2 separate regions of the Homo sapiens genome follow, and region 2 is linked to region 1. Evidence: promoter capture Hi-C in human tissues and cell types (Jung and others, 2019). All regions are on one chromosome and are shown on one strand. Each heading gives the region's core, a stretch centred on a gene start or on the middle of the fragment in contact. The rest is flanking DNA. Distances are from core to core; before and after follow the strand shown. Region 1 holds the start of MGP (matrix Gla protein). Region 2 holds the start of SMCO3 (single-pass membrane protein with coiled-coil domains 3).

Evidence for each region. The method cuts DNA at HindIII sites, captures the fragments that hold promoters and counts their contacts. A contact is called where the count stands out against the background at its distance.
Region 2: the fragment with the promoter of SMCO3 here is called in contact with the fragment with the promoter of MGP in region 1 in 1 of the 25 tissues and cell types used here (adrenal gland).

The regions. Positions count from the first base shown.
Region 1 is chr12:14,884,470-14,890,556 of GRCh38, forward strand. MGP (matrix Gla protein) reads right to left here and starts at 1,385. Exons shown (of 4, transcript NM_000900.5): 1 at 1,262-1,385. The coding sequence starts at 1,322. The HindIII fragment of the contact is 8,639 bases long and covers 1-5,325 here.
Region 2 is chr12:14,811,194-14,817,682 of GRCh38, forward strand. It overlaps SMCO3 (single-pass membrane protein with coiled-coil domains 3), which reads right to left and starts at 2,989. Exons shown (of 2, transcript NM_001013698.2): 1 at 2,933-2,989. All of the region lies in intron 1 of C12orf60 (chromosome 12 open reading frame 60), which reads left to right. The HindIII fragment of the contact is 14,769 bases long and covers 1,083-6,489 here.

The sequences.
Region 1 (6,087 bases), core at 135-2,634:
TATTTTAGTTTCTCTGATGTTGAAGGAGGGAGTGGCCATTTTCAGCTAAAATTTCCCAAGGGCTATGACGTCTTCAGACAAGCAAAATAAGACACTTTAAGTGCTGTACAGAAGTCTCCAGAGAACCTTCTTCTCTGATTTATTCAGAGCCTGTTTGAGAACAGGGTCAAAGAGGATTAAGAAGGATCCAGAAGACAGCCAGGTTTCTCCAGGCAAGAGAACTACAGGGCAGTTGCTCTGCTGGGCTTACTAGGGCAGGTTTCTAAGAGGGTTCCGAAAGCCTCTTAAGAACCTGTGTTAAATTGGCAGCCACAGAAACCACTAGCTCCAGCTGACAGCTCACCCTGGGCACGATGCCAGTTCAGAGAGAGAACTGAAACGATATCAAAGCCGAAGTTTTCTTCTTTCTGCCACTCTCCTGAGCACAGCAGATAAATTTTGGAATAAGAAGCTTCTATTAATATTTGCCAGCAAGTGAATTTTCTTCAAAACTTAAAAAGGAGGTGAAGAAATCAAATCCTCTAATACAGAAAATTTGTGAATACAAGAGTGAGAAGCATAATCTTTATGGTTGTTAATGTAATTTAAATTTTAAAACAATGAAAATATCTAGGTAATTGAAACAAAAGACTGAAATAAGTAAATAACTTTGCTTCAGATTTCCTTTTATAAGCTTTGAACAAATGCAGGTATATTTAATGACATATAGAAAACAGGCAAAATTTATTTTCTGACAACAGGAGTTATGAAAATGATTCTTTTCTAAAATTCTTTTGATGTAAAACTTTATTTTAAAATTAATTAACTGAACAAACATAGTAAGTTCATGAGATTGTCCAGTCCCTAGAAAGGGCTATACTTAATACTTCACATAAAAATGGATTTTCTCAAAGGCAAGTGGTTTAAACAATACCCTTAACCCATTGATACCAAAGTCTAAATAAATATCCTTAAAAATGAGGATGCAGGGGGCTGGGAATTTGGTATCTTCTTTCTGAAATATGAGTTTCTAGATATACAGAGACTTACCACTGAACGGGTTTGCCTGTTAAGTTGCATAAGACTCTGGATATTTAGGATATAAAAAAGACTTAATAGAACAGATCAGTTTCTGCGGAGACTGGGAAATGTGAAAGTAATGGTACTTTAAGATTATAACAGAGAAAGGGGGAAGAAGAGGAGGAGGGAGAGGAAAAATAGAAGTAAGCCAAAGTCAGAGGCAGAAAAGTAAACACAGAGAAATGGGAGAAAAGTTTCTCACCATAACACAAAGTTACTACCGCTAAGGCGGCCAGGATGGCAAGAAGGATCAGGCTCTTCATGGTTTCGTCCTGCAGGTCAGTCTCAGGGTCTTGTGTAGCAGCAGTAGGGAGAGAGGCTCCTACGGGATGTTAGTGGAAGGCTGTGAGGTTTTTATAAGAACCAGAGCAGTTGAGAGGGGAGGAACCAGTGGGAGAGAGCTGGAGAAGGTGGGGAAGGGTTGGCACTGAACTAGCATTGGAACTTTTCCCAAACAGTCATTCCTTCCAGATATTATCTACTCTGAGTGGGCAGTTTTCCCTAACTGCTGGACCTGACTGTGTTACACAGGATGCTGCTCTGGTGCAGAAGTTTTGGCCATCGTATGCTTGGGGACAGACCTGGGCAAAAGCCCACAGAGGAAGTTGCCACAAACACATGATCTACCCTCCTGGCCCTGACCGCAGGGCTTTTGGGTTTGGTCCACAGACAGAGCCCTAGTGTTCTGTTTGTTACCCTGATTGATTGATGAGAGGTTTTGGGGGAGAAAGGACTTCACTTTCTTTTCTTTTCTTCTTTTTAACCTTTGCCTCTTCTTCTAGGAGAACTTCGCTTTCTACACTGATTATAATTTAGACATCTTCCCAGTAGGGCTGAATCCTAGACCAATCTATCAATCCCAGACTAATCAGGCATTTGCCTGGGGATATGCATCTTTGGCATTTTTCCAAGGGTTCATCAGGATGGAGATATCCGGTGCACCATGAGTTCTGTTTCCTTAATCAACACCGTTGTAACTTGCCCATCCAGTTTTGTGACATTAATTCAAACCTGTGCCCTAGTCCTCTTTTAGGCAGCGTATCAGTGCTGGAAAGTGCAGCAAGGATAAGAGGGTACTGTTCTCTCATTTCTGAGGGCGTTGTCTCGATAATTAACTAACTTGATAGACTTTTTAGTGAGTGGCAGGTGAGATGCAAGGTACTGTGCTAGGTGCTGTGGGGGATGTACAGACAAACAACACACCTCCCTAAGGAGGTAAGTAATAGCTACTTACTATTCACTTTGCTCTTTCACTGTAATGTATCCTCAAGCACAGGTTTTCACTACACCATCAGGCCCAGAAGTACTAGCTTATTTTCCACAGGAGGATTTCAGTTTGATGCCTCTGGTTATCTTGTATAGAGAGGTCTTTTCTTTCTTTCTTTTTTTCCCCCTTCTTTTGCAATCACAAAATCTGTCCTACCAGATGTGCCTCTCTTGCTTGGGAACCCAATAGTTTTCTTTGCAGACAACAGACTTGAAGTCACAGAGCAGCAGATTGTAGAAGAGCTACAGCTTCGGGACCTCTGACTCTTGAGCTGGAACAGCAATAGGGCTGGGTTGGGGGTGGGGTGGATGTGTCTTTCAATACTGATGTATTTCAAGGAGCAGTGATGAACTAGGTGGAGCCTCATGCTTCATTCTTTTTGTCTTGTTGGGATGGAGTTTCCCTCCCACCCTCCATCCTGTGAAGAGCTTTTATAAATATTAACAGAGTCCCCATTAAAAGAAATAGCTCCTTTGAAATCTGAAAGATTGAGTTCTGAGGGATCAATAAAATTCAAGTTTTCTCTCCAAAACCTAAGAAATAGATTATCTGTGCGAAAATCTTAAAGAAAATCTCAGAAAGAAGACCGTGTATGTTCATCCTTGATAAATTCAACCATCACAATTTCCACTAATGAGACTGGCGGTTGTTCCACTCTTTAAACCACAACCTACTATGAGTGTTAGTTTCAGTGTCCATCTTGGAAGATGAATCATCTGAATCATTACATGATCAATGAATAATTTAAAGTGCGAAAGCCAGTTCACTATATTGCATGACTTTGGGGGGACAAGCTAGCCATAGATAAAAGTTTTATACGTACTTAGCTTAGTAATTAACCACCAATTAATATAACATCAAACAAGTTGAATTCCAATGTTTCACCCTTAAAATGAGTAGTCTACTCTCCCCATCCCCACTCCATCTCCAGAATTAAAGAGAAATCTTCCCATTTTCCTGCTATAAATATGTGCTTTGCAATGTACATTAGCTCTGTCTTTTCCAGCCAAGTCATAGATGTCTCCTTTATCCCCAAGTTCAAATGACAACTATAATCTTTCAACCTCTGACATCACAATTGTTTTTTTATTTTTACACTCCCAGAAACTAAACTTGAAAATCCTACACTTCTCATTTCAACTTAAGGTTCACCTTTTGTTCACCTTAAATCACTGCTTCCACTGGATTCCCTAAACTTAAGCATTTCTCTTTATCGTCTTGGTTTTTGTAAGGCTAACTTTCTTTTGGGAGCTGTGTCTCTTCGGTCCCTCATCTGCCTTTCCTGTCCATTGCTCTCCCATCTATTTCTGGTTCTTCTCTGCAAAATCCCATTTATATATGATATGTAAAAATTATTAACATGTCTGAGAATCCAGAGCTCTTCTTTTTCTCCTCTGTCACCTTACTCCCCATTTCAAAGACAACTTTGTGAATGCCAACTCCAGTCATATGTTTTTATGATGAGGACTTGGACTAACGCATGAAGCAGGGATGGGAGCTTTGCATTAGAAAGGACCAAGATTGACTCATCTGAGAGAAGACAGAAGAAAAGAATGGAAGTAGGAAAAAAAAAAAAACGGAGAAGGGGAAATGAGAAGAGCCTTACCAATTTGGTTTGCTGGGTGAGTTTTAGGTAGAGACTGAGTGACAGAGAAAAACGGAGGCAGTTGTAGAAGGTGAGACATATTAAAAGCGAGACATGGGAACAGAGAAATAAAAGTTGCTTTGGTTAGGAATAGCATTGTTTGAGATTGCAGAATACTGTCTGAAAATTTTCAGAAAATATTGAAATTTGAACAAATTAATTTTGCCAGCTAGTTTGCATTTTCTTAATTGGGATATCTTGTCAAGACGAGACCACATGAAACTCTAAATTCTAATTAGATTTTAGATAATTATGAAAGACACTTATATAGACATTTTCCCTTAACAAAAAAGAAGTGTTATTCAGAGGAGAGAATATTTGAAGAAACTCCCAGAAGTGATAACAGAAATATGAGACAGTGATATGATTGCCAGTTTTTAAACATGTGTAGGATTCTCCTCATGTGAGGTTGGCAACGTAGGAACTGAAGCAAGAGAAGCCATGGAGTAATACAGATCTCCTATTCCACCTACTCTCAGGCAGAAAAGAGAAGAATGACCATGCCTGTCAGGGCCAGAAGGAGCTTCATGATTTCATAATTCTCCCATCCATCCATCCATCCATCCAGCCAGCCAGCCAGCCAGCCATCCATCAAGTTATCTATCTAGCCAACAAATGTACTGAGCATCTACTGTTTGTCAACTCTAGGCTGGAAATACAGTAGAGAAAAATACAGATATGGGCCCTGTCCTCATGCATCAAGTGTGCTCTTTGAACAAAAATTTAATAGTGGCTCCTCTTATTTAAAAAATTGTTAGGCAGCCAACTGGCCTTAAAGGAGACCAAGTGATGAGCTTTCTCACTGGGCTGACCATTCTTATGGGCACTCAGGAGCATCTCTGTTTCCAAAGCATCAAGAAAGGTGCTAGTGACCAGCTCAGATAATTCTGAATTTAGGGAGGGAATGCAGGAGAGGAACATTGGCAGAGCTTCTGAGAATTACTGTGGGGAGAAGCTTCTCAGAAAAGTATATTTGCCAGAGAATATACCAAAAGAGTTATCCCTTTCACATGGTATTTCTGTGACTAAAATAATGGCATAGAGGTAGAAAGTGTAATATATTTCCCTATCAATTCTACCTCCTTCTCTTTCTGTCCTTGCTTATCCTTTAACTAACTCTTTTTCAGATGGCTAGGCATTTTGTCTCTTTGAGGAATTTTCCTGGCTCCAGTCAGATTTCTTTTTCTTTTTTGCTGTTCCATGAAATTCAGCTTTATTTACTGAATTTTGATTTTATAATTTTTTTTAAACTGGCAGCACTAAAGTCCTTACCCTTGCCATTAAAGGAAAAACGCAAATGAAAGAAGAGTTAGGAAGAAGCAGCCCTGAAGACAAAAACAGAAATCACTCTCTAGGACATCAAAGAACAATGAACTAGGAGACAGAAGCCCAGCCAATGTCGTGGGACAGTGCCATGCTCTTAGTTCTTTTCTTTTAAGGGAAGCCCCTTGAGAGGATTCTGTGTGTCAGATTCTTTAACTGACATAACTTCCTAGGCACAGATAGAATCCTTCTTTCCTTTCCTTAATTTGTCTTAGTTGAACTAAGTAAGAATAAATGTTTGTCAAACTCAGGCATGGGAGGAGCATCTGGGGACTCATGGGCTGAAACTTCCAGGGAAAGTTGGAGGTGCCTGATTATTAAACAAAATAAAGGTGGAGAAGTCTGAGAGGTGGAGAGCTTTTGGCTGGGAATGGCTGGGATTTTTCTTTTCCTCCCCTATCGATTATTTCCTCCACCCTTCTTAAGAAAAGCTTCAATTTTTAAATAAGATAGCAAATATCAAATAAAAATTATACATCTATCCAAGCGCTATTATCATATGTCAAATGCTTGCTATATATTAGATGCTCTGATAGTCACTCTTTATTTTTTATTTACTTCTCTTAATAATCCTATAAGCTAAGTATAATGACCCACATCTCATATATAAGAAAATGGAAGCTCAAAGAGGTAAAATAGTTTATCCAAGATCACACAACAACTAAATGGCAAAGACAGGATTAAAACGCAGGACTGTTTGATGTCAAATCGTGTGTTTTTAATAATGATACAACCATGTGAGATCCCTCCAGGTTCTGACACCTGCTTAAATAATTTTGTGATTGCGTCTTAC
Region 2 (6,489 bases), core at 1,739-4,238, 72 kb before region 1:
TGTACAGAGTTTGTGCTATTATTTGAATATTTTCTTGTAGTTATCCATGAAATGGGTTCTGTAGTGCCCTGGAGCAGCCCATTGGGAATTGCTAGACAGCAGGTGGAGCTCTTGGTCTCTGGGTCTCCCATTTTTCACCTGGGCCTTTGCTGGACTGGAGCAGCTGTGCTTTCTCTTGCTCTACACATTTGGGCTCTGGGTAGGTAAAATTTTATTTGATGAGAGAGTTCTGTTGCTAAAACAAAGTTTGGAAATTTTTGACTTGTTATTTTATTAAAAAATGACAAAAAACATCTGAAAGTGCTGATGTCATTGGTCAGCACACCTTAAGAAATGAAAATGGAGACAAAGGTTAGCTTGAGATGGATGCTTACTGCACCTAACCTTGTTAATTTTTTTGAATTGAGAAGTCAACATTTAAGATTAAAGGGCATCTAAGATATGGTAGAAATATGCTGATAATTGTGTCTAAAAGTTAAGTTTTATTTAATGACATCATACAGTTGTTTTAGTTTTTCAGAAAAGGAACTACCTTACAAAATGAAAATGTACTGATCATCATATGTTCAAATACAACTCTTCAGGGTACTTTCGTGAATAACAGTAGTGCGTTGACTGTCAAGTGCTGTTGAACTTAGAAATTAATATCAAGGTGATTAGAGAAAGCTTCATGGAGAATGCAATATATGATTTATACTTTGATAGATGGTACATTATGGAGAAATTAAAAGTGAACGGTTTGGTAAAACGATTTTTAAATATATACTTATTACCAGTAACATATACACTTTTTTAAATAGAGGAGGAAAAACACCCATAAACCTACCATTTCACTTTTGATTTTTGTTATTCTTTTTCAAAATTTGTTTATATGCATAAGTATCTTCACAAAGTTATCATAATAGTATAAATAAAATTCATCTTTTATTCACTTAACACTTTCCCCTATTTATAGCTTTAAAAATATTTGGCCGGGCGTGGTGGCTCACGCCTGTAATCCGAGCACTTTGGGAGGCCGAGGCGGGCGGATCACGAGGTCAGGAGATCGAAACCATCCTGGCTAACACGGTGAAACCCCGTCTCTACTAAAAATACAAAAAATTAGCCGGGCGCGGTGGCGGGCGCCTGTAGTCCCAGCTACTTGGGAGGCTGAGGCAGGAGAATGGCATGAGCCTGGGAGGCAGAGCTTGCAGTGAGCCGAGATTGTGCCACTGCACGCCGGCCTGGGTGACAGAGGGAGACTCCGTCTCAAAAAAAAAAAAAATTTTATTGGTTACGTATACTATTCCCTGTCTTTACCCTGGTTCAATAAATCTAAAATTGTTTCACTATCACTAATATTCTAATGAGCATTTTGATACCCACAGATTTTTTTTCCTCCATTATCTGGATTATTTCCTCAGCATAAGTACCTAGAAGAATTACATAATTAGTGGCATAAGTAATGGGAATTAAATTTTTATTACTTTTGATATGTATCGTAAATTGCATTCCAAAAGCTTTTACTGTGCTACCCCAAATAAATTTTTATAGCAGGATACTGGGTATCCTGCTATAAAATTTTTACAATTTTTATTTTAGATTCAGGAGGTACATACACAGGTTTGTTCCCTGACTATACTGTGTGTTGCTGAGGTTTACTGTGAATGATCCTGTCACCCAGATACTGAGCATAGTGCTGGTATATTTCCCAGTCAAAGATGGTCCTGTTTAAATATTGTTGATTTGGGAAGAGTAAGGTTAAATTTCAAAAAGAGAAGTTCTTGCCTATTTGGAAATACATACTGAAAACATTTAAGATGAAATGAAATGGTCTCAGAGATTTGTTCACAAATAATCTGGAAAGAATAGTGGGGTAGGGTTATAGAGGAAAAAAGATTGGCCTTGTTTTGATAATTTTTAAAGCTGAGTTATGGGTACATGGGAGTTTATTATATTATTGTCTCTACTTCTGTGTATGTTTGAACTTTTCTTATAACAAATAAAAAAGAAAGAAAAAGAAAAACGTGACCCTGTCTAAACCTCTGATGTTTAGTCGTTAGTGCTCTCTGAGGTTTTACATTTCTTCTTGCTGTCACTTTTCTTCACTGTCCAAACAGGGTTTTGCCATCATGCACAGTTTCCTTATCTGGGAGTGTGGAAATAGGGTATAGGTAAAATCAGGAGCTTTTCAGAAGAAAATAACAGCTTCTAACTAGTTCTGAGTCTCCTTTAATTCAAATAAAAATCTGTGGCCTTTAATTAAAACAAAAATTGATCATGATGTGATGATATACTTTCTGATATAAATTCATTTAAAAAATGTTTCTGACCAGAAAGAAGAATATTAAAGTCATTCATCAGCATTTATCAAGTGCTCACTGGTGAAGCCTCTACTGTGTCCCTTGAGGCATTTGAAAACGACAATGTTCCTTGCCCTCAAGACGATAACAGCCTGTTTGGAGACACACAGCAAATGCTCAGAGATATTTAGATACAACATAATTTATGAAGGAGTATAAGTACTATACATTAACCAGTATTAGATTCCACATTCATTCTTTCATAGATAGGTACTGAGTGCCTATATTAATATTAATGACATAGAAGGAAATGTTACTATCCATGTAAACTTCACACATTCACACAGGTATCATTTCATCCTTAATCCTTCTTAGAATTGATGTCTTTACTGCTTCTCTTCCACTCTGACTTAATCAGTCCTAGAAATTGTTAATTTTCTTCCTTCTCTGCTGTCTTCAGAGAAGGCACCAGGAAAGGTTCCTTCCAAATCACAAGGAACATGTCATGGGATCCTCTTATAACAAAGCTGTTTTTTTACTTTATTTTATTTATGGTTAGGATTCAAGACTGACGGGCTAATTCAAATTCCTCCTACTACTGAGAAACAGAGTATTATATCAATACTAATAGAAATATCCACGTTGCTTACCTTGCTGTGTTTCTGAGTTCCGTGGTCCTAGCAGTTGTTTAGGAGTATTGTTAAAGTGCTTTTTCATCTGGTTTCATCTGGATATTTCTGATGGAATGTGATGACTTACAGACTTTGCTAGTCTCTGCTGGGTCCCTCTGCCTGTCTGGTTTATAGGCTATTTCTACATGGCTTGGCCCTCAGAATTCCTTCATTTCCTATTAATAAAAACTTAGTATACAGTATTAAGTTATATAAACTGGAAGACTAATAGTGTGTAAAACTTATTTTTAAATTTCTGTTCTTTAATGGACTTTTTATTGTTGAGAAGCGCTATATAACTGAGCTAATTCAATTTAGTAGAGAAGATGGCTCTTTGATTGCAGCTCTCAGATTTTGGGGTTTTATCTTGTCAACTATTCCAGATACTAAGTTTCTTTTAGCTTCTGTTGCATTTGCACCTCTAACTGTTGCTGATTATTTAAATTCTCAAGATATATAAATGCAGTTACTTGCATCCAATTTTTTTTTCTCTTCTTTCCAGCTAGGAGTTCTCCTCTTTGTCATTCTTTCTCTTCCTGTGTTTGTAAATTGTCTTGACAATATAAAAACCTTAAAGTCCAACTTCACTCTTTTCCCTGAAAGCTCAGATCAGTCTTCCCTGCTGCTTCTTCCCAGCTTCAGTCTTCAGACCCGTTAATTCCTCCACAGCAAAGACACCTGAGTGGCAGGGAAATCACTCAGCCCCAGTGTAACTTAGTGAAAGACAGCAGGCTTTACACTCAGACAGTCCTGGTTTTGTGTACTCCAAGTACCACTTACTAGTCATGTAATCCTAAGAAAGTCACTTAGCCTGAGTTTTCCCATTGGTGTAATATGAGTATTAGTTAATAATTTATGGATTAAATGGGATAGTGTTTATAAAGTAATTGGCATAGTGGCTGATATGTGGCAAAATCTTATGAAACGGTAGCTATTCATATATTAACAACAGTATCTCCTGGTGGAGGGGAGAGGAGAATGGGTGGGTACAGGATACAGAATCAAAATGCCAGACAGGCAGACAGGAAACTTTAAAATCTAAAGATGCTGCCCTGTGATTCTAAAGAAGGGCTAAGTGGGGTCACTTTTCTACTTTTGTCCCAGTGGATCATCTTGCCCTTGATGTATCCAGGGCCCCACCACGTACGGATGTGTGGCCAGTGTATCTGAACTAGGTATGGATGTTAAGTAGGATTTTAATAGATGTTTGGGGAGGATGGTGGTATAGAGGAAATAATACAGATAGAGGGAACACTGAGAGCAAAGGAGCTGAACCAAAAATTGTAGAACATTTTCAGGGAACAAAAACCAACCTGCTGGTGATACAGGGTGTAAGTGGGAGCAGTTAAGGGAAGGTAAGTCATGGAAAATTGAAAATAGTTTGTAGATAGCCTTAGATGTCATGCTAGGAAATTGTATTTCATTCTGTAGATAATAATGAACCATTAAAAAATCCTTTTAATTATGGTGTAATATTTGGAGATTTGGATTTCAGGAAGGGTACATTATGTAAACTTGATTAGTAGGTATGGACAATAAAGCATAAGTTACCAACCCCATTGCCTACAGTATGTGGACAAAATATGTCTGTCTTTTACCCTGTCTTAAAACAGTTGCATTTTGTTTCCGAAGAGGCTATTGTTGAAGAGTACCATTTAACCCACTTGTTCCTAAGGTGTTTGTTTCTCTCCTATTTCTACCCTTCTTAACATTTATTGCCTACTCATCCACTCCTTTCTCTCCTACCACATAGCAGCCTAAGTGGAGTTGCCAAAATTAAGGATAAACAGTAACAATGCAAAATAATTATCAGAGAAAAACTAGAAGCAATATTGACTTCATACTGAGCCCCCTAATCAACTTGAACTTCTTTTTTCTGCAATCAGTTTCTCAGGTTGAAAACTTGAACTTCTTAAATCTTTCTTGACTACTAAAGCCAGTATTAACGTCAAGTCAATAGTCAGAACTGAACCTTAGGAAGGAGGCACATTTTCTTAGTGTAGATCTTGGAGTCAGGGTGGTTTTAGGGAATCAGGAAGGCTGATTTGACAAGTTTCACTGCTGGATTGACAGTGGTGGGAAATGAGAGTGAAAGCAATAATATCTCCAAACTTATCTGCATGTAGCTCTCACTTGATCGTCTTTTATTTAGAATGCTTTATTTTCCCTTTTATCCTAAAGCTCATCCCCTTCTTTTCCTAAAATCTCTGCTCAAAAACCATATATTACATGACCCTGAATAAACTGCCCGATTCAATTACGATTGTTTCAACAATTTGCCAGCACTTATGAATGCTGCACTTAAAAAAAAATCAAGCAAACCTAAAAATAATCACCTTTTTGACCCAATAGCCTCCTTTATCTTTCTTCTTCACAGTTAGACTTCCCAGTTTGGTAGTGTACATGCATTGCCTCTACTTCATTTTCTCCATTAATTTTCCAGTATTTATAATCTAGCTTCTGTACATATTCCTGCCTCTTGCAAAATTGCTTTTCTAGCATTGTCAATGACATTGTAATGACTAAACATAAGAAATAATTTACAGTGTTTATCATACTTGCAGCATTTGAAATTGCTGATCAGGTCTTTATATTTTCTCTTTTTTTTTTTTTTTTGAGACAGAGTCTCACTCTGTCACCCAGGCTGGAGTGCAGTGGTGCCATCTTGGCTCACTGCATCCTCCGCCTCCCAGGTTCAAGCAATTCTCCTCCCTCAGCCTCCCGAGTAGCTGGGATTACAGGCGTGTGCCACACCCAGCTAATTTTTGTATTTTTTAGTAGAGACGGGGTTTTGCCATGTTGGGCAGGCTGGTCTCCAACTCCTGGCCTTAAGTGATCTGCCTACCTCAGTCTCCCAAAGTGTTGGGATTACACTAAAATAAAATACTTAAATATAAATCTAAGAATATATGAGCCACCATGCCCGGCCAATTTATCGTTTTTTCTTTAATGGATATGCTTTTGGTGTCATACATATCAAAGGACTAATCAGCTAACCAAAAGTTACAAGATTTTCTTCTGTATTTTCTTCTGTTTTATGGTTTTATATTTTTCATGTCCCATTTTGAGTTAATTTATGTATGTGTATGGTATGACATAAAATCAAGGTTTATGTTTTTGCATATGGGTATCAGGCTTTTCCAGCACCATTCATTGAAAAACCCTAAACTTTCTTTTTTTGTTGTTGTTCTTTCTTTGTTTTTTGTTTTTATTTATTTCTTCCAAAACAAAAGGGAGGATACATGTGCAGAATGTGCAGGTTTGTTACACAGGTATACATGTGCCATGGTGGTTTGCTGCACCTATTGACCCATCCTTTAAGTTCCCTCCCCTCGCCCCCCACTCCTCAACTGGCCCTGGTGTGTGTTGTTCCCTTCTCTGTGTTCATGTGTTCTTATTGTTCAACTCCCACTTATGAGTGAGAACACGTGGTGTTTGGTTTTCTGTTCCTGTGTTAGTTTGCTGAGGATGATGGCTTCTGGCTTCATCCATGTCCCTGCAAAGGACATGATCTCATTCCTTTTTATGGCTGCATG